Regions from separate parts of the Homo sapiens genome. Here all the other regions are linked to region 7. Evidence: promoter capture Hi-C in 16 types of primary human blood cells and fetal thymus (Javierre and others, 2016). All regions are on one chromosome and are shown on one strand. Each heading gives the region's core, a stretch centred on a gene start or on the middle of the fragment in contact. The rest is flanking DNA. Distances are from core to core; before and after follow the strand shown. Region 1 overlaps MED13L (mediator complex subunit 13L). Region 2 overlaps MED13L (mediator complex subunit 13L). Region 3 overlaps MED13L (mediator complex subunit 13L). Region 4 overlaps MED13L (mediator complex subunit 13L). Region 5 overlaps MED13L (mediator complex subunit 13L). Region 6 has its middle 19 kb from the start of MED13L. Region 7 holds the start of MAP1LC3B2 (microtubule associated protein 1 light chain 3 beta 2).

Region 1 (2,778 bases), core at 230-2,729, 320 kb after region 7:
GGAATCAAATGGCGTAGGTACAATTTTGGAGGGCATGGGGACTGTGGACCCATAATTTCAGCCCCAGCCCAAGATGATCCAATTCTGTTAAGTTTCATCCGCTGTCTGCAAGCTAACCTGCTTTGTGTATGGCGTCGTGATGTCAAACCAGATTGCAAAGAGTTATGGATATTCTGGTGGGGAGATGAACCCAACCTAGTGGGTGTAATACATCATGAACTGCAGGGTAAGGTTTCTGTTTTTTTCTTAAAAATTATTTGCATCATATTTTTTTGAACATTGATAAATTTCAAACAGATTATTAAGACTTGTCTAAAAGAACGATCTTAAGTGTTTCATGGATGTCTCTCTCAAAAGGAACATTCTCACCCCTCTTCCTCCCATCCCTGTTTTTTTTTCCTAACTCTTGTCCTTTTCCAGTTATGCTGAGAATCAGAACCTTGTGAACCGCTGCTGTTAAATGAGAGTATTGTGTCTCCTGGGTGCGGTGGGGTGGAAACCAGGCTAAGATCCACTGTTTTTAAATGATAGTGAATTGTGAGTAACTAACAAGACAGTGAATTGAACAGTTACTGTTTTTTTCCTTGGACTGTGGTTGTTATGGTTCACTGCCAGCTGAACTCTTTGGTGGAAAATTGGAGAGTGATACAGAAATTTAGTTTTGAGCCTAATTGGACAAAATTGTGAGATTACATTGAATAGTATTTTGAGGAAAGATGAATATATGGGATCTGGTCTGAATTGGGTGTAGCAAATTTTCTTTTGCTTTTATTTCTGTTTTTCATGTAATTTGGTGATTCCAGGAAACATTGGCTCCGGTGTTGCCTGATTTTTAGCTTCAGATTGCATCTGATATCTGGAAACTGAATTAATGTAAGAGTTTCATTTTTCTGTGCTGCTTTATATATTTACCACAGTTTTATGAGCAGGAACTTTTATCAGTTGTCTTTGAATTTCTGGTAAAAATTTTTACCTTTTTATCTAAGTGTTTCTATTTAGTATGCAAAGGGATTTTCTCAAGCAAGACTAATTCTAATCTTTAGTTAGGGTATTAACTCTTTTTGACTTAGTCTCTTAGAACCATCTTTTATTATCTCCAAACTATATTGTGTTAATCTGTGTCTGAAAAATTTCAGATCGTGTTTGAAATGTTTTGTTACTTGATGTTTTTAATGTTTTTTTTTTTTAAAGGAAGGAGTAAAACTAACTGTAATGTATGTTCGAGGCTCTGTTCTAAAGCTTTTACATTTGCCTGAAGGATTTCCTGCCAACTTTTGCTTGACACCTTGCTAGTTTTTCTTGGCAGCCATTTTTTATCTGTGATATCTCCTGCCACAGCAGCCAGAGGGCGGTAAACCACAATGGACTAATTGAACTGTTTACTTTATGGTCCATTTGTCTGTTCAGCTCAAACCTTTATCCTGATATTTTTTAGGGTATTTGGTCTATAAATAAGAGAACCATTGTGGGTGACATTGCTTGCTTAGCTGGGTAATCAGCAAAGTCCCAGAACTTAACATTCATCTCAAAGCCTGTTCTATGTAGTTAGCAGTTAACTTAGGTAAAATTAGAGTTTCAGAACATCTGGATTCTGTTTATCAGAATTTTAAAAATAAGATGTCACCTAGAAGATAATTACAACATTTTTGTTTGTCCATTAAAATATGAAAACATATTTTTACTTTTTTTCCCTATGTAGTAGAGAGGTATAAAGCTTTTTAAAAAGTGTCTTTCTTATCTTTCATGATTGTTTCTGACTGTCATCTTCTGTTTCTCTGTATTAATCTCTTACGTTTTAGCTTTTTGGTCTGCTCTTTGTTAGTGTGGTACATATAATTTTGTAATGATGAGGAAACCAAACCCAACTGCTAATGAGGGTTATTTAGTTGATAATATAGAATAAATTTATTTATCTATGCCAACGGAGAAAATCGTCAGTGTTCTTAGAAATAGCTTATTAAATTATTGTGTTATTTTTCATGGGCTTTGTTACTGAGTTAACAAAAAGGAGTAGGGCATTTAAATTTTGGGATAGTTGCTTTAGATTGCATGTGTAAATTAATATCTTAAGTATTTTTTGGTAAAGAGTTAAGCAAAGATTGAATTATTTTTAGATATTTTTAAAATTACAGAAACACTACATTTAAGTTAGAAAATTAGGAAAACAGTCATCATATGGAGAGAACAAAGAAATAAAAATACTGAAGTCTGAAAGAGTTTTAGATGTTTTATGTGTAAATGAAATTGGTACCATACAGTTTTTCTAATTTTCTAATTAAATGTAGTATTGTGAATATTTTCTCTTGGGAATGATTACTTTTCTTTGGAGTTTGATAGTGGTATAAACTGTTTATATTTTGTATTCTATCAGGAAAGTATTACAGTAATGGAATAATTATAATTTCATTGAGTGCGTCTCCTCTTTTTAATATGAATTTTGAGCAAGTTTTTAGATTCATTTATATGAAGTGTCCATTTTTGTAGGTAAAAGTAGTTGAAAAAGGTAATGTATGGTTCAACCTAATAACAGAAAATATCTAGCCTTAATTAGAAAAATAAGTCATAAAGACAACTTTGTTTCAAATAAGGGGAAATACGATAGCAGTCATGAAAAACTGAAGGATACAAAGAGAATATTTTAATTGGTAGCCATACAAAGTGGAGATATTTTAGAATCTATTTCATTCTCTAATATATTTGAGTCATTTTATTTTGGGTAAAATAAATTATAGGCGGAGCATGGTGGCTCACGCTGGTTATCCCAACACTTTGGGAGGC
Region 2 (2,927 bases), core at 186-2,685, 360 kb after region 7:
ATTGATTAAATGGCATAGGCAGCAACATCTGTTTTGTAAAGCTAGTTTAGTTTCCTAAAACTTTAAATTTTCAAATTTACAGCTTACAAAGAGAATGAAGCATATTTCTTTAATGCCATAAAAAGACTTTCATGGAGTTTTGATGATAGCTTGTTTTAACCTTGCCCTTAACCTAATTCTTTTTAGAACTTATTTTCTTACTGTATTATATTGCTCATTTTCAAGAAAAAGACATATTTGTAATGTTGGAAACTTTATAGTCTTATATGGATGGCTCTTAGGTTTTTCAGATCATTCATCCATTTGAAGACCTGCAGAAAGCTTTGGATGGTCTCCTAGAAAAAAAAGCACCCATACACGTGCTCCTAAAACTCTGTACAATTGTGGGAGGTAAAGCTCACCTGTACAGATCCCCCTGAAGCCTCCTGCCTCCTTGATGTCCTTTGCTTCACATGTGTTATTAAATGCATTAATAATGCTGCTGACTGTGCACATAAGTTACCTTTCTTTATACACAGCTTATAGATTTGTTGAATATTTGGATCACCATTTTTAAAAATCAAATGTTTTATGATGTTGATCTACATGTGTCATTTTTATTTCTCGGGGTTAATGTCTATTTTTATTCTTTTTCTCTCATCCTTGTAATTTCTTTTTTAGTTAAGGAAATGTATCCATCTCAGGGTTTCTTCATTTATTATTACAACCCTTATTTGGATGGACTTAATGACCAAAATTTATATGGTATTACAGTACATAGGCTTACCTGATCTAATCTTGTAGAAGACTTTTCTTGTATACTTCTTCGTGTAACATTTTCAAATAATATTTTCAATTTGGGATAGAGGACTTTAAAGAAAGTTAAGACTTGGGTAAAGATAGATACTCTCATATGACAACCCATGGGGGCTTTTTAAAATTATACTAGTGGATGTGTATTTTTATATTCAGTTGATCCTAGTCTTTGTACAGTCAGTTTTCTTTTACAATCTGGAATTTTGCCCATGGTTTCAAGGCCAGCATGGGTATTTACTAAGTAATCTTGAGGATGACTGTTCTTCTTTTGTAACCTGCTCTCTCCAGATCTGATCTGTATCTGTTTTAACCCAGAAGATGTGCCCTTTTGCTTACACCATCCCTCTTGTTTTAAGTTAAAAAGACAAAAGCTACCCGATCTACTATGTCATAGGAATTATTATGATATTCTCTACCTCTCTAGCCCTGTATTAAAAAAATCTAACTTGCTGCGTAGTGCTTTTATTTTATAAACTATTTTTAATCATTAAAAAATTCAAATTTATTGATTAAAATATAAATTGAGGCACAGTGAGTCTTTGAAGTCTTTGAAGTGTGCTTAGTATAGACTTAGTGTACTACTGCTGGTTTCATGCACCAGAACGCTTTGATTATTGTGTTTTTTCTCTCCTTGTGGGGTGTAGGCTCATTGAGGACAGTTTACGTACATATTCTTCTGTTAGCACTTTTAACATAGTCCCTGTCAAGTAATTCAACAATAGTTGAACAATTGCTAATTGAATGAATTCTGAAAGTTTCACAAATTAGACCTGAAAGGAAAGATTATTTTTCTCACCTGTTTTTCTTGAAGTTTCAAATTATTTTGAACTACAAATGGTATTTCACTAGTAAGTGTGAAAATTTATTGTGAATATAATTAATGTCTTGCAATGTGTGATGAGAAAGGTGGCTATAGTACACTAGATTGTTAACATTGTACAAAGTACAAAAGTTCTTTGGAAATGTTGAATGACTGCAGTGTGGCCATTATTACTTTTTTCCTGGGGTAAGAAGGAAATGCGATAATTAAAAAAAAGGCAGGGGATTGGTAGTACTTTATTAAAGAAATCTTATGTTGCTAAGATAATTTAGTCATGTAATTTTTTAAAAAACAGGCTATTTAAAATAATGTTTGCTTTTTCCTTCTTCTTCTCCTTTTTTTTTTTTTTTTGAAAAGCATCCTCCTGCCTTGGCCATCCAGAGTGCTAGGATTACAGGCATGAGCCATGGCGCCCGGACTTTTCCTCCTTTTATTTCAACCATGACAATGTATTTTGGCTCTCTGCTGATTTAAATTATATTTCGTGGAAAACAGTATGACGTCCAAAATGCTCATATAACCTTGAACTTGAAATTATTTTCCTGAGAAAATTTGTCCTTCTGACTGATGCTCTTTAGTGTATAAAGGTATTAGTTGTAATTGATTGGCTTCTTAAATGTTGGAAGTATGGTGTTAAGGCAGATAGATTTCTTTATTTCTTGAGGGGTGGAGATTAGATTTTGATACTGGACCAAAAAATGATTTTTCCTGATATAGGTTTGAATTAAAAAAAAAAAGTAGCATTTAAAAAGTATGGATTCCTGGTCTTAAAATTTGATGACTGTTTAACCAAATGGGAACTGTTTTTCTGAAAGTGCTTTAGGGCAATCAGTGCTAATGCTTTTACATGCTTACTGAAAGTAGAAACCTAGGCATTTGATCAGAGTATTTTCTAAGAGATAGAAAATGTTTAAAAGTCAGATGATAAGCTTGCATAAGCCTCAAGGGTGACACAATTTAGTATTCCTAAATAAGGACTTAGTGTTTCTTGCAGATGAGGATATTGCAATAGGAAGCTATTTGACATAAAAATAAAGTGTGCGTGAAGTGTGCTGTATCACTTTTGTGTAAACTCTCTTTTTGATTTTCTTAAGCAGAAATGGCTGAGATTGGGTTTACATAGTCTCTTAAAATCAAAGCTTGCTTTACTGCATAGAATAAAATGTGTTTCTCTGACTGACTAGTACTGTATAAAATAGCCTACCTCTCTCATGCAAAAACTGATATTGGACAGAAGATGGAAGAGACAAGATAAAAAAAATGGGACCAGAATGGAAAGGGAATCACAGAGGTGGCTAGTATTAGATTCCCA
Region 3 (2,960 bases), core at 444-2,943, 290 kb after region 7:
GCTAATAATTGCAGTGCGTGGTCTTTAAATATGTGCTTTGTGCATGAGTTACTGTATGTATAGCTATGTGCCCAGGAGAGTACGAATTTGTTTAAATATTGAGCAAAGATTTGTAAACAGATGTAAGGCAATTACGTTTCAAGCGTAGAATATAATTGGAAAATTGGCTGAACGGTTTATTTAATTTAGCCTTAAAAACACCCAACTTGTTTTAAGTTGTGTACCCTGTTTTTTTTGGGGGGGAGGTGAGTCCCTTTTGGAGAGCATGCATTTTGGAAATTATTTTCTGTAACCCCCGCTGTAGATAGAAGCATTATTTCCCTCTTAATCCTTGTTTACACTGGATAAATAATTTAGTGTTCAAATTGTAATTAGTTACATTTAATTATGGGTGGCATAGATGCCTTTTTGCTATGAGACTAATGGAGAAATGCAAATTCTCGCCAACTTTTCAAATGAAAGTGTTACTTTATTAAATGTGTTACAATGCAGACCAAAAAATCAACACGTGATTTTTACCTACAAAGACATAGTATCATTGCTCCCACTCTAGTAAAATCAGGTAAATTTTTTTAAATGAAATATTTTAATCCAGATATTTAATCTTAAAATTCATTTATAAGTTGGAATTCTTTCTCTTAGTATTGTGATAATTTTCCCTTGATTTTTTGGTATGTGGGAGTAAAACCCCCTTTTGCCTCAACTTTTTCCCTCCTCAGTCTTATCATTTAGTATCAGTCAGGTTCAGGGACTTCCATAGATTAGCAAACATATTGATCAAGGGGTATTTAAAATGGTTTTTGTGTGGTTACTGGTGACCACATTGACACTTACAGGTAATTAAAATAACCAAGTAGAGCGATCTCCCAAATTATCATATATTATGCTGACTGGTAATGGCTGTGTATATACGGATTCTGTAGACAAATGAAAGTATATGTATAGCCAGTCTTTAGGGTATATCATTTCTTTTATCTTTTTTTTTTTTTTTTAAAGCTTAAGTAAGGATGATAACGTTACAGAGATAAAATGCTTGAGATTCTTTTGGAGAAGCAATTTTGTAGGAGAGGATTCTGTACTTTGATTTTGAATGACTAAAGGTTTGTGTTTGAGATATTTCTCCCCTAAACCTCTTTAAACCAAGGGATTGATTTTTGAATATGCTTTTTTAAAAAGAATTATTTTTTAAGTAGCAACTTTGAACTAGAGAACCATAGAAATGCTTAGTTGATTTTTTTTTTTAAAGGAACGTAGAATGTCTTCATTCTCTTGTACGTGGAGTGTGGATAAGGTGCTATTGAAGAAATGTAAATTAATTAAACTGCTGACTTGTACATTTTTCTGATTCCAAATTGAGATTTTTTTTTTTTGAAAATGCTATACAGCAGTAGCAACCTGGAATATTAAAAATATGTTGCCCAAAGTACATTGTATATCATAGTTATTTCTGAAGGAGATGTAATCACTTGTTCAAAATCATGTTTTTTTATAAGAACGCTTTATGGTTTAATAATAGCATGCATTTTTTTCTTTTGGCCTGCAGGGTTTTTTTTTTTTTTGTTTTGTTTTTTTTTGCAGAGAAAAGTATTTATAAAGAATTTACCTAGATACTCTCATTAGTTAGATTGAAATAAGAGATTAAGTTCTGTACCGTGGTAATACCCACCCAGTTTCCATTACCTTGAGGTGTTCATTATGGCTTACCAAAAGTTGATTGTGCAATCAATCAGACACTTTAAGATTTCTGCTAGTCTTTTACTTATTTTCTGATTTTTTACTGCACGGAATCAAATTTCTTAAATTAATTTTTCAGCATCCATTCCCTTTTCCTAACGTGTGAAAAATGCCATTGTGTATATATGATATGGGTCATTGTATAAGTTTCTTATTCTAACTGCTGTGAGATTTGTAGCTGCTGCATTAAGTGCATGCCTGCCTGTGCCTTTCTGACTCAAAACTATTTTCTTATGCTGTCCATCACATTTCTGGGTGACTTTTTATATATTCACTCAGTTAATCATTCAGTTAAAAGTGTGTTAAATCTGCCTTTTTGAAAAGTGTAACAGTGCACCCTATGGTATGTGAACTCATTCTTGTGAGAAGACATAATTTCTGGATGTTAAGTAGACATTTATTTTTCTCTATTGAGTTAATATGGAGAAAGTGATTTTGTGCCCTTTAACTAGATTTAAATATGTGCTCTTTGATATGAGGGAGTGATCTCTAGTTCTTAGATATGTATGCTCCACTTTCATGTTTTATTTGCTTAGAATCTTCCTGACTATGGATAATTGGGTGATAATCTCAAATTCTTGCTGAATTGAGACACTAGTACACCCATTAGTACATAATTCCTATTGAAGACCATTAGTTCTATATTTGAAGCTTTTAAGGTAATCTATTGTTGACCTACTTTCTTTTTGTCTTAAGGGATTTTTTTGCAGAATGGGAAGGTAGTTGTAAATGTAGAAAGTCTGAATTTTTTTTTTTTTTGCGCTAGAACAAAATAGGGTGGACTATAAAATGGAAATTAGGAAAAGGGAATGATTTCTCTAATTTTCAAAGTGCCAAAATACACAAGGTATTTTTTTGTACCAGTTCATTGTGATTTTATAATTTATGTTTAAAGCATTTTTTTCCATGATGGTTCATTTTCTTTCTTTTTATTTTTTATTTTTTTGAGACGGAGTTTCGCCTTGTTGCTCAGGCTGGAGTGCAAAGGTGCCATCTCAGTTCACTGCAACCTCTGCCTCCCAGGTTCTAGCGATTCTCCTCCCTCAGCCTCCGGAATACCTGGGATTACAGGCATGTGCCACCACGCCCGGCTAATTTTGTATTTTTAGTAGAGACGGGGTTTCTCCATATTGGTCAGGCTGGTCTCAAACTCCCGACCTCAGGTGATCCACCTGCCTCAGCCTCCCAAAGTGCTGGGATTACAGGCATGAGCCACTACGCCTGGC
Region 4 (2,905 bases), core at 36-2,535, 310 kb after region 7:
TTATTGAATGACCTTAGAATCTTTGTTAAAAATTAATGGACTCTATGTGTGCATTGCTTTTTTCTGGGTTCTATATTCAGTTCCTTTGATCTACATGTCTGTTATGCCAGTACTACACTATGATGATTACTGAAATTTTATAGTATGTCTTGAAATTAGGATAAATTCTCCGACTTTGTTCTTTTAAAAATTGTATTGATTCTTCTGGGTGTTTTGCATTTCAATATAAGTTTTAGGATCAGCGTGTCAATTAAAAATTTTTTTTCTGTGGGGATTTATTTGTGATTGTATTGAATCTGTAGATCAAATTGGGAAAATTGACATTTTAACGATTTTAAATCTTTCAGTTCATGAACATGGTCTGGCTCTTCATTTCTCTAGATATTTAATTTCTCTCAACATTGTTCCGTAGTTCTTAGTATATAGATCTGGAACATACTTTTATCAGATATATTCCTAAGTAAGTTGTGTTTTTCAATGCTGTTTTAATGGCTATTATTTTAGAGTATTCCCCCCCACCCCCTTTGGACACAGAGTCTCACTCTGTCACCCAGGCTGGGTGCAATGGTGCGATCTCAGCTGACTGTAACCTCCGCCTCTCTAGTTCAAGCAGTTCTCCAGCCTCAGCCAGGAGAATCATGGTAGCTGGGATTACAGGTGTATGCCACCATGCCTGGCTAATTTGTTTGTGTTTTTAGTAGAGACAGAGTTTCATCATGTTGACCAGGCTGGTCTTGAACTCCTGACCTAAAGTGATCTGCCTGCCTTGACTTCCCAAAGTGCTAGGATTACAGGTGTGAGCCACTGCACCTGGCCATTTGAGAGTATTTTTTGACATGTTTACTGTTAGTTTATAGAAACGCCATTAATTTTTGGATATTGATTCTGTATACTGCAACTTTCCTAAGCTTTATTAGTTGTAGTAGCTTTTTTTGTAAATCCTTGGATTTTAAAAAACGTACGTGATGATGTTATCTGCAATTATAGATGGGTTTATATCTTTCTTTGTAATTTGTATTTTACTACTTTTTCTTGCTTCATTGCATTGATTAGGACCTACAGGGCAGTATTGAATAGAAGTAGTAAGAGTGTACATCCTTACCTTGTTCCTGTTCTTGGGCAGAAAATATTCACTCTTCTCATTGTTGACATTAGCTTTGAATTTTCTGATATCCCCGTAAGGTTGAGAAAGTTCTCTTTAATTCTTAGTTTTTAAAATACCGTGAAAGTGGCTGGGCTCACACCTGTAATCCCAGCAATTTGGGAGGCCGAGGTGGGTGGATCACTTGAGGTCAGGGGTTCGAGACCAGCCTGGCCAATGTGGCGAAACCCCGTCTCTACTAAAAATACAAAAAATTAGCTTGGCATGGTGGCACACGCCTGTAATCTCAGCTACTCAGGAGGCCGAGGCACGAGAATCTCTTGAACCCAGGAGGCAAAGGTTGCAGCAAGCAGGTATTGCGCCACTGCACTCCAGCCTGGGTGACAGAGTGAGACTGTCTCAAAAAAAAAAAAAAAAAAAAAAAAAACAAAAAAAACCGTGAAGGTGGGTATTGATTTTTGTTAAATGTTTTTTCTGCATCTATTGAGATGATCATAGGTTTTGTTCTTTTAATATGGTGAATTATACTGATGGGTTTCTAAATGTTGAACTAAGCTTGAATTCCACGACAAACCTTACTTAAGCTTATGGTATTATTATTACGTGTTATTAGATTTGATGTGCTAATATTTTGTTAATGGTTTTTTCATCTGTGTTTATGAAGGATATTGGCGTGTACATTTCTTATCATCTCTGTTTGGTTTTGGTATCATGGTTAATGTTGGTGTCATAAAATAGTTTGGGAAATAGTCCCTCCTTTGTTTTCTGAAAGAGTTTGTGCAGGACTAGTGATATTTTTTCCTTAGATGTTCGATAGAATTCACCAGTGAAGCTATATTGCCTTGGAGATTTTCTTGTGGGAAGGTTTGAAACCATGAATTCCACGTCTTTTTTTTTTTTTTTTTTTTGAGATGGAGTTTCGCTGTTATTGCCCTGGCTGGAGTGCAATGGCGCCATCTTGGCTTAGTGCAACCTCCGCCCCCCTCCCCCACCCAGGTTCAAGATATTCTCCTGCCTCAGCCTCCCAAGTAGCTGGGATTACAGGTGCGCACCAACACATCTGGCTAGTTTTTGTATTTTTAGTACAGACGGGGTTTCACCACGTTGGCCAGGCTGGTTTTGAACTCCTGACCTCAGGTGATCCACCTGCCTTGGCCTCCCAAAGTGTTAGGATTATAGGCGTGAGCCATCACGCCTGGCCCTCTGTGTCTTTAATAGATATAGAGTTGTTCAGATTTTCTGTTTCTTTGTTAATTTGGTAAAGGAATTTTGTTCATTTAACCTGAGTTTTATTTATTGGCACAAAAATTGTCTGTAATAATTCCCCTATCATTTTAGTGTTTTTAGAATGTGTGGTAATGCCTCCCCTTTTTTTTCCTGATATTGGTAGTGTGTCTGTTCTTTCCCTCTTGATTAGTCTAATGAGCATTTGTTAATTTTACTAATCTTTAAAGAACCAGCTTTTTGTTTTCTTTTTTTCTGTATTATCAAATTTGTTTTATGTCTTATCTATTAATATTTCTTCTCTTTTCCACATTATTTCCTTTCTTCTATTTACTTTTGGTTTAATTTCTTCTTCCTTTTATAGCTTCTGAGGGTAGATGCTTAGATCACTGATTTTATGCCCTTTTATTATTATTTTGAGACACATTGTCACTCTGTCACCCAGGCTGATGTGCAGTGGAGCAATCACAGCTCACTGCAACCTCAGTGTCCTGGGCTCAAGTGATCCTCTCACCTCAGACACCTGAGTACCTGGGACCACAGGCATGTGCCACCACACCTGGCTAATTTTTTTTTTTA
Region 5 (2,911 bases), core at 218-2,717, 340 kb after region 7:
TAGTATATACTTTGTTTAAAAGTGCAGAACCACACAGTTTTTTCCCCCAACTCTGTGGTTTTCATAAGACTAAGTATTATGCCTAAAATTTTACCTGGTAACTTATTTGGTTAATTAATTCTCAGGTTAATAGACCATATATAAAATGTAACCTCTGCCAATATATGTATATCAAAGCAAAAAACTTTTGTTTATGGCCCCTTTATTTTGAGACAGAGTCTCGCTCTGTTGCCTAGGCTGGAGTGCAATGGCACAATCTCGGCTCACTGCAACCTCCGCCTCCCGGGATCAAGTGGTTCTCCTGCCTCAGCCTCCCAAGTAGCTGGGATTACAAATGAGCACCACCATGCCTGGCAAATTTTTGTATTTTTAGTAGAGATGGGGTTTCGCCATAATGGCCAGGCTGGTCTTGAACTTCTGACCTCAAGTGATCTGCCCGCCTCGGCCTCCCAAAGTGTTGGGATTATAGGCATGAGTCACCACGTCCGGCCCTATGTTCTCTTTTAAAATCCAGCGCGTGTATTTTGATGGTCTAAGAGAAGTGGGAATCTGGAAGTTGGCTATGTAAATAATAGTTTTCTCTTGGAAATCTCGAGTAGGAGGCAATAGAGTTTAGAAGAAGTAAATATTAATTTAAATAGTAATTCAGATTATTATTTTATGGAGATTTTAATTGATCCCATGATTATTTGGTATGTTTTGTGAAAAGATTAGTTTATAATGGCATTAACAGCTTAAGCTAGTCTGTTACAGCTTTAGTTCACTTAGGCAGTGTTACAGATAGTTTTGCTATATCATTTTAAAAACTGGTAGGCTGGGTGCGGTGGCTCACACCTGTAATCCCAGCACTTTGGGAGGCTGAGGCGGGGTGGATCACGAGGTCAGGAGTTCAAGACCAGCCTGGCCAAGATGGTGAAACCCTGTCTCTACCAAAAATACAAAAATTAGCTGGGCATGGTGGTGCGCACCTGTAATCTCAGCTACTCGGGAGGCTGAGGCAGAGAATTGCTTGAACCCGGGAGGCAGAGGTTGCAGTGAGCCGAGATGATGCCACTGCACTCCAGCCTGGGAGACAGAGCGAGACTCTGTCTCAAGAAACAAAACAAAATAAAACAAAAAAACTGGCAGTTGAACTTACTTTGGTAAGAACTTCTTTAAAAATGGCTTTTGGCATTAAAAGCTTGAATACTTTCTAAATAGGACTTTGGTTCAATTTTGACATTTTACTCTCAAAATAATTTGGTTGGGAAATACTGTATATTTTAAATTTCAAACAATTAATATGTGTACAATAAATGAATGCTTCGAAAGTTAGGTTTGATGGTGATCCAGGGATTTTAATGTCCACATTGTGGACATAAACAATGAATTAATCTTTATATTCACATCTCTTTGTAAAGAAATCTTAAAAATTACTTAAGATTAATAAAATTAATGAATTGAGTATAGATGTCTACATTTTCTTCAGAAATAAATTTATTTATTTTTGTATTTATAATGCTGATCTAGCTTTAGTTAAAATACTGGAACACTGGTGAAAATAGGCATCTGCCTATCTTTACCTTTAACGTATGCTAATTAGATTTTTTAAGATGTAGAAATATATACTAATAACATGAATATAATTTAAATTCTTTATGTTTACGAGTATTCCTCTTTATTTCACTTTCCTTGATTAGATGTTCATAAAATTCACTATATAAGTTAAGAATAAGTCCAGTTATGTACAGAAAGATAAAATTTAAAAAGCTTGTCTCTTTATTATTGACATTCTGTCAGCTTCCAAAATTTTTTGAACTGACTAGAATGGTGTATGTAATTGGCTATTTTACGTTGACACTTTTCATTCTAACTTGTAAGAATTTCGGTATAGGCTGGGTGTGGTGGCTCACACCTGTAATCCCAGCACTTTGGGAGGCCAAGGTGGGCGGATTACTTGAGGTCAGGAGTTTGAGACCAGCCTGGGCAATATGGTGAAATCCTGTCTCTACAAAAATACAAAAAAAATTAGCCAGGTGTGGTGGCACATGCCTGTAATTCCAGCTGCTGGGGTGGCTCAGGCTGGAGGATCACTTGAGACTGGGAGGCAGAGGCTGCAGTGAGCTGAGATTGCACCACTGCACTCCAGCCTGGGTGACAGAGCAAGACCTTGTCTCCAAAAAAAAAAAAAATTTTACTGCTTGCCTTAAATTGCCTTAAATGCTTTGCTTAATGCTGATAAGCCCTCCTGTTAAATTACAGATTTTGTGTTGGGTTATTTGGAGAAGAAATTTGAAAATGGAGAGCCATTTACAACTTCTTTATCTTTTTCTGAAAAGTTTGATGTTAGTGTCAAAAAAAAAAATGCTGGTTAAAACTTTTCCCTGAAGACCGAATTTCTGGAGAATGCCAGAAAGTACATAGAGTACTGAACTGTGAGTCTCAGAGTAGGGTGAAGGGGTGTTAGGTATAAAAAGCATGTTTTTGTTGTAAATGTTGGCTGGTTGACATAATTATAATTGTTGGCATTGCAGGAATCTTTGAGTGTCTGTTGTTTTGAACAGAGTTAAAAACTGACCTTGACTTTGTTATATTTAGAAGGAGTGGGCAGTAATTGCCAGTGTGTTAAATATTAGATTTGAAGGTTATTGGATATTCTTGAGAGCTATAAAAAATCCCATTTTATTATCTTTTATTCTGTGTTTTGGCTTTTGCAGAAAGTATTATACGAAGTAAACTTGATCATTGAATGCCTCTGGGTTAAAAAAAATTACATACTTTGGAAAATGACTTGACAAAAGTTTAATTAGAGAAAGGCTGATTAGATAGTTATGCTATTGAATCTCTTTATGTTATCGAATCTCTTATACTTGGAGGAGGAGGGGAAGTGTATAATTCAATTCAACGAGCTTGTGTTGAGTGCTAGACGACT
Region 6 (2,741 bases), core at 126-2,625, 260 kb after region 7:
TCCTTCCTCTTTCTTTCTTTCTTTCTTTCTTTCTTTTTCTTTCTTTCTTTCCTTTCTTTCTTTTTCTCTTGCTGTTTCTTTTTTCTTTCTTTCTTCTCCTTTCTTTCCTATTTCCCTGTCTTCATTCACCTACCTATCTTTCACTTTTTAGAAGTAAGCCTATTTGGAAAGATGTCCATCACAGTGTCTATATTTAATAGCAAAAATAGATCTAATGACCTACATCTCAGCCTAAAGGGAAAGGAGTAAATAAAGTTTGTTTACACTCACACAATGGAACACTATACAGCCATCAAAAAGAATGAGGTAGTTTTATGTGCTATCAGACTACAATGAGCCAAACTGTGGCCAGTCTCAACCAAAGAATCACATACCAAAGAATCACCAGCATTGGAAAATAATTGATATCTGAACTGAAGCCTCTTTGAGCAATCCGTACGATCCTCAAGTCTCCCTCATTGTAACAGCTACTTCCTTAAATGCTTCTCCTCATTTCCTCCCAATTTCAGTGTGGGCTATTATATTCTTTTCTTCAGGCACTCTTTCCTTCTTCATTCATCCACTCCTCCCCACTTTTTTTTTTAATTGTAAGAGACAGGGTCTTGTTGTATGGCCCAGCCTGGAGTACAGTGGTGCCATCATACCTCGCTGCAACCTGGAACTCCTGGGCTCACACCTCAGCCTCCTGAGAGGCTAGGACCACAATCAGGTGCCACCATGCCTAATTTTTTTTTTTTTAATTTTTGTAATGATGACGGTCTTGCTCTGTTGCCCAGGCTGGAGTGCAGTGACACCATCATAGCTCACTGCAAGCTCAAACTCCTGGGCTCAAGTGATCCTTCTGCCTCAGCCTCCCAAAGAGTTGGGATTACAGGCATGAGCCATTATGCCTGGCCTTACTCCCTTTTTGATCTACTCTGTTCTACCCCAGGTGGCTTCAGGTCCTTCCTTGTGCAAATTGCAAGTCAATGTACTCACTCTTAGCTTCTCCAGTCCCTGATGGGTCCAACAAAAGGTCTAGGGATTAGGGAGGCAAAGGCAGAATCTTCTTTAGAAGAAAGAATAGGTGAAAAGTTGATAAATACTTAGTGATATTTTCATCCCTGATATATGCATACACATACACACACACACACACACGAAGATGCCTATGACACGTTGTTGAGTGCAGAAAACAAGTTGCAAAACACTCATCACACTTATAATACCTCATTTGTTTCCTTCAGAAGCTTATGAAGTCCCAAAGGACAAACATTGTCCCCTGTAATCCAGTGCCTGGAGCATGGTAGATCTTTAAATATGCTGCTTTTATTGCTTCATTAGATATTTTTCAACATGTTAGTAGTGCATATCATGGAATGATGGAATTGTAGGTCATTTTCACTTGCTCATTAATATTCTTCCATATTGTTTGAATATTTAATGGAGAGCTTGCGTTTCTTTTCCTTTTGCTCTCTCATTTTATCTTATTTATTTACTTGTTAATGTTATTTTTATAATCTAATAAAGCAAAAAGCTTTTTGAATTAAAAAAATGTGAATGGAATGGTGAGAATTTAAGGCATTTCCTTCTAGTAGGGAAGAGAGATTTGGAGACTTTTGGCACCCATTAAATTACATCCATTAAGTAATACTGTGGGAAGGAAAACAAAACTCAAGCATCACAGTATCAAACCAATCCTTCAAGTTAGCAGAACCTCTGTGTTTACTTGGTGCATGCAGCCGCCACACTGACCCTTTCTCCAGCTTCCCTAACAGACTGGGATCTAGCCTGCTTCAGCTCCTCCTGTTGGTTTCTTACAGACTTTGGACCTCATCTGATGAGCTCCAGATACAGAGTCCACTGCGATAGCCAGAAGGGCTGTGCCATTCTTGTTTCATAGATATCCAATGTGCCCTGCCACTGTCCTTGATTCAATGGAAAACTGAAGAAATGGAAAGAAAAATTACTCACTGACACCTGGATAGTATGTTTAAAGTTTCTTTGCTTTGAATAGTTCTGTCTGCCCATTCATCCATCCATTCATCCATCCATCATTCATCTACCCATTCATCCATTCATCCATCCTTTCATCCATCCATCCATCCATCCATCCATCATCTATCCATCCATCCATCCATTATCCATCCACCCACCCATCCTTCATCCTCCATCCACTCATCCTTCATCCTCCATCCCTCCATCATCCATCTTCCATCCTCCATCCATCTACCCATCCATCCATTTTCCATCATTTATTCATCCATTCATCTGACCTCCATCATCCATCCATCTCTCTTCGCCTACTATCTATCTACTCTTCCATCCATCTGTCTATCATCTATTATCTATTTCTTTATACATAGGTCCCTCCTTTTCCTTTGACAATCTTTTACCTGGCCATTGATGCCAATGAGGCCAATGGATGTTAATATTCTGGTATAGCTGGAAAAAGATACAGATTAATAGTAAATATGATTCTCTGCTAAGAATCTGTTGGTAACCAGGCACCAGGCACAATGTAAAGAAATCAGAAAGTGCTAAGCTCATGGCCTGACACATACAAGTGGGAAAAAACATTCCTTTGAGTTCATTCCCTTGTTAGTGCTTGTAATTACAGATCTTTGCTACTGCTTCAATGAAGCCTCATGCGTTCATAACAACTGGTGTGAAGGGCAGGTTAAGAGGTCTTTCTGTATTAAAGAGACTGTTTAGAATCCTTAAACAAAATGAACCTTTATTCCTTTTGAGTACAGAGGAGA
Region 7 (2,725 bases), core at 64-2,563:
AAATTAATTTACACCTGCAAAGATCCTTTCTCCATTAAGGTCACATTCACAGGTGCTGCAGCACATTAGACTGTGGACATATCTTTTCTTTTTTTGGTGGAGGTGTGACTGGGGAGACACTATTAAACCCACTACAGTGTAAAAGTAGGCCAGATGTGATGGTTCACACCTGTAATCCCAAGACTTTGGGAGGCCGAGGTGGGCGGATCACTTGAGGTCAGGAGTTCGAGACCAGCCTGGCCAACATGGCGAAACCTCGTCTCTACTAAAAATACAAAAATTAGCTGGGCGTGGTGGCGCACCTGTAATCCCAGCTAGTCGGAAGGCTGAGGCAGGAGAATCACTTGAACCCAGGAGGCAGAGGTTGCAGCGAGCCGAGAGCGCGCCACTGCATTCCAGCCTGGGCGACAGAGGAAGACTCTATCTAAATATATATATATACATATACATACATATATATATATATATATATATATATATATATATATATATATATATATATATAGCCAAACTTAGCTTTATTTCAGAGCCGTTGCTGGGCCTGGGAGTGGAGAGAGATCAGGAGAGCGCCACCAGCTTGGATCGGTTAGTGAGCTGCGGTGGTTTTTGTTTTTGTTTTTTTTTTCTTGACAGTGTCTCCTATTGTTTTGTATTTCTCTTTTGTTTTGAGGTTTTCTGCCATCTTTTCTGGAAGGTGCATGATGCTCAGCTCTGTGGTTATTTTTGCCCAACAGCTGTGTTTCCGGTGAGCGGCTGTGGGATTCTTCTGACTCAGCAAAACTGGAGCAGTAACCGTCAAGAAGCCATTCAAGCAAGGCTAGAAATAAAGAAGCTGTTTCTTCACCGTCCCCTCCTCCTCCTCTCACTTCCCTCCCCATGGGTACCTTTTGAAAGTCTCACAAAGCACTTTGAAAAAACTACTTGGACCAGTATGCTGGAGGGTTGACTGAAGGTGGCCCCTCCGCTGGGCTTTAAGCAAACAGATAAATTCTGGAAAGGACTCTGCCCTGCCAGCCTGGCTGTGGCCTTCGGAAGGCCCCTCCCAACATGCCCCCACCCGCCGATCACATGGACTGTGTCTTACAAGTTTCCCACAGGTCTGACTAGTGAAAGCAGAGGCTGTGGGGACTTTTGTGGTTTTTCTAGGGTGTGGCCCCACTTTGCCTTCACCAGGCCTGAGTATCTATGCCGTGCAGCTTGCCTGCTTCTCAAAGGTCATGATTTCCACCCTGGGGCTGGGAGGCAGCTACATATTCCTACCCGCTGGCACAGGATCTGGCCCTGCACTCCCGAGAGGTGGCTGCGAGCCTTGCGGAGGCAGAGAGAGAACAAAATGGAAAGGAATCTTCCTCCCGGAGAGCCATCTTCTGTGCATGCCGGTGCCTGCAAAAGACAGGCGAGGCGAGACAGCTGCACCTCGGGCCTCGTCGCTGTTGCTGAGAAAGAAAGGAACAAATAAATTTAGCTCCATCCTACGCATCCTTTGCAGCTGCTGATTGACCAAACAGAAAGAGGCCTCTATTTCAACCCTGGCTTCTCAGCTTTTTGCCTGATGGGGTCTGCTATCGCCCTTTACAAGGGACTTTTGAAGGAGGAAACGGGCCGTGGCCTTATTTAGCGCCTGGCCGGCTGGAGGCTGCACAGACAGGAGTTCAAGTTTAGGGTGTCTCTTCTTGCCCATCCCAAAGCAAAATGGTGGCCCGGAAACGTTTCCAAATGGGCTTCGGCTCCTGGAATTTCCAATGTATTTATTTGGAAGCCAGAACATGGTGGGTGGAGAGATGTGTAACTGTGCCGAGGCCAGCCTATAGCTCCCGAAGCCATTAGTTTAATAGCACCATTTGTGGAAATAAAGAACTCGCTGACTGGGCTTGAAGGTAAAAGACTGGAACGAAGCACTGAGGGGGTTTCGTGGGGCTCACTAGCGTGGAGAGGTCCCTGCGGGATGGGGGACAAGCTGTGTGGACTTTGAGTCAGATAGACTTGGGTTCCAGTCCTAGCTCTATCACCTAAAGGCACGTTGTCTCTGGACAAAGAGAGCCTTTGCTCTGTGATATGTAAGTGAAATGCTAGCTGTGACACTGAACCTCTCTGAGCCTCAGTTCCTTATCTGTAAAACAGCAATGATGACACGAGGTCGTCACAAGGATTAAATGACAAAGAATACTGAACCTACATAGCCCAGCTCTTGCTGTGCCATGATGGTGTAGAGTGGCCCCTGTTTGACCTGCCCAGGCCCATTCTCCAAAGAAGCTGTACAGGTGAGGTGGCTCACCCCTGTAATCCCAGTACTTTGGGAGGCCGAGAAGGGAGGATCACTTGAGCCCAGGAGTTTGAGGCCAGCCTGGGCAACATAGAGAGACCCCATCTCTGCAAAAAAATAAAAAAAATTAGCTGGGTGTGGCGGTGCACGCCTGTGGTCCCAGCTACACAGGAGGCTAAGGTGGGAGGATCCCTTGAGCCCAAGAGGTCCAGGCTGCAGCCTGGGTGACAGAGCAAGACCCTGTCTCTAAAAAAAAAAAAAAAAAAAAAAAATAGAAGGTGTTTCTTCCCCAATCCTCTCCTTTCATTTCCCTCCCCGTGAGTACTATTTGGAAGTCTCACACGGCACTTTTTAAAAACCACTTTAAGTCCGGGTGCAGTGGCTCATGCCTGTAATCCCAGTACTTTGGGAGGCCAGGGTGGGTGGATTACTTGAGATCAGGAGTTCAAAACCAGCCTGGCC

Evidence for each region. The method cuts DNA at HindIII sites, captures the fragments that hold promoters and counts their contacts. A CHiCAGO score of 5 or more calls a contact.
Region 1: a contact is called between a fragment that was not itself captured here and the fragment with the promoter of MAP1LC3B2 in region 7, in 9 of 17 cell types (total B cells, naive B cells, non-activated CD4 T cells and 6 more). The highest score is 9.2, in total B cells.
Region 2: a fragment that was not itself captured here is called in contact with the fragment with the promoter of MAP1LC3B2 in region 7 in 5 of 17 cell types (fetal thymus, total B cells, naive B cells and 2 more); the score reaches 7.8 in fetal thymus.
Region 3: a contact is called between a fragment that was not itself captured here and the fragment with the promoter of MAP1LC3B2 in region 7, in 16 of 17 cell types (total B cells, fetal thymus, neutrophils and 13 more). The highest score is 20.8, in total B cells.
Region 4: a fragment that was not itself captured here is called in contact with the fragment with the promoter of MAP1LC3B2 in region 7 in 11 of 17 cell types (monocytes, total B cells, fetal thymus and 8 more); the score reaches 11.8 in monocytes.
Region 5: a contact is called between a fragment that was not itself captured here and the fragment with the promoter of MAP1LC3B2 in region 7, in 2 of 17 cell types (naive B cells and monocytes). The highest score is 6.2, in naive B cells.
Region 6: a fragment that was not itself captured here is called in contact with the fragment with the promoter of MAP1LC3B2 in region 7 in 4 of 17 cell types (M2 macrophages, total B cells, fetal thymus and 1 more); the score reaches 5.6 in M2 macrophages.

The regions. Positions count from the first base shown.
Region 1 is chr12:116,234,916-116,237,693 of GRCh38, reverse strand. MED13L (mediator complex subunit 13L) reads left to right here. Exons shown (of 31, transcript NM_015335.5): 2 at 1-226. Among named protein-coding and RNA genes, the nearest start is that of MED13L, 41 kb to the left of the region's middle. RefSeq lists a cis regulatory region at 447 and an enhancer at 375-519. The HindIII fragment of the contact is 475 bases long and covers 1,242-1,716 here.
Region 2 is chr12:116,199,119-116,202,045 of GRCh38, reverse strand. The region is part of intron 2 of MED13L (mediator complex subunit 13L); the gene reads left to right. Among named protein-coding and RNA genes, the nearest start is that of MIR620, 52 kb to the right of the region's middle. The HindIII fragment of the contact is 2,223 bases long and covers 324-2,546 here.
Region 3 is chr12:116,273,024-116,275,983 of GRCh38, reverse strand. The region is part of intron 1 of MED13L (mediator complex subunit 13L); the gene reads left to right. Among named protein-coding and RNA genes, the nearest start is that of MED13L, 3.2 kb to the left of the region's middle. The HindIII fragment of the contact is 1,389 bases long and covers 999-2,387 here.
Region 4 is chr12:116,252,378-116,255,282 of GRCh38, reverse strand. The region is part of intron 1 of MED13L (mediator complex subunit 13L); the gene reads left to right. Among named protein-coding and RNA genes, the nearest start is that of MED13L, 24 kb to the left of the region's middle. The HindIII fragment of the contact is 749 bases long and covers 911-1,659 here.
Region 5 is chr12:116,217,997-116,220,907 of GRCh38, reverse strand. All of the region lies in intron 2 of MED13L (mediator complex subunit 13L), which reads left to right. Among named protein-coding and RNA genes, the nearest start is that of MED13L, 58 kb to the left of the region's middle. The HindIII fragment of the contact is 569 bases long and covers 1,183-1,751 here.
Region 6 is chr12:116,294,943-116,297,683 of GRCh38, reverse strand. No RefSeq gene overlaps it. Among named protein-coding and RNA genes, the nearest start is that of MED13L, 19 kb to the right of the region's middle. The HindIII fragment of the contact is 287 bases long and covers 1,232-1,518 here.
Region 7 is chr12:116,557,969-116,560,693 of GRCh38, reverse strand. It overlaps MAP1LC3B2 (microtubule associated protein 1 light chain 3 beta 2), which reads right to left and starts at 1,313. Exons shown (of 2, transcript NM_001085481.3): 1 at 1,261-1,313. RefSeq lists enhancers at 720-819, 860-909, 1,130-1,469, 1,309-1,818. The HindIII fragment of the contact is 18,876 bases long and covers 1-2,725 here.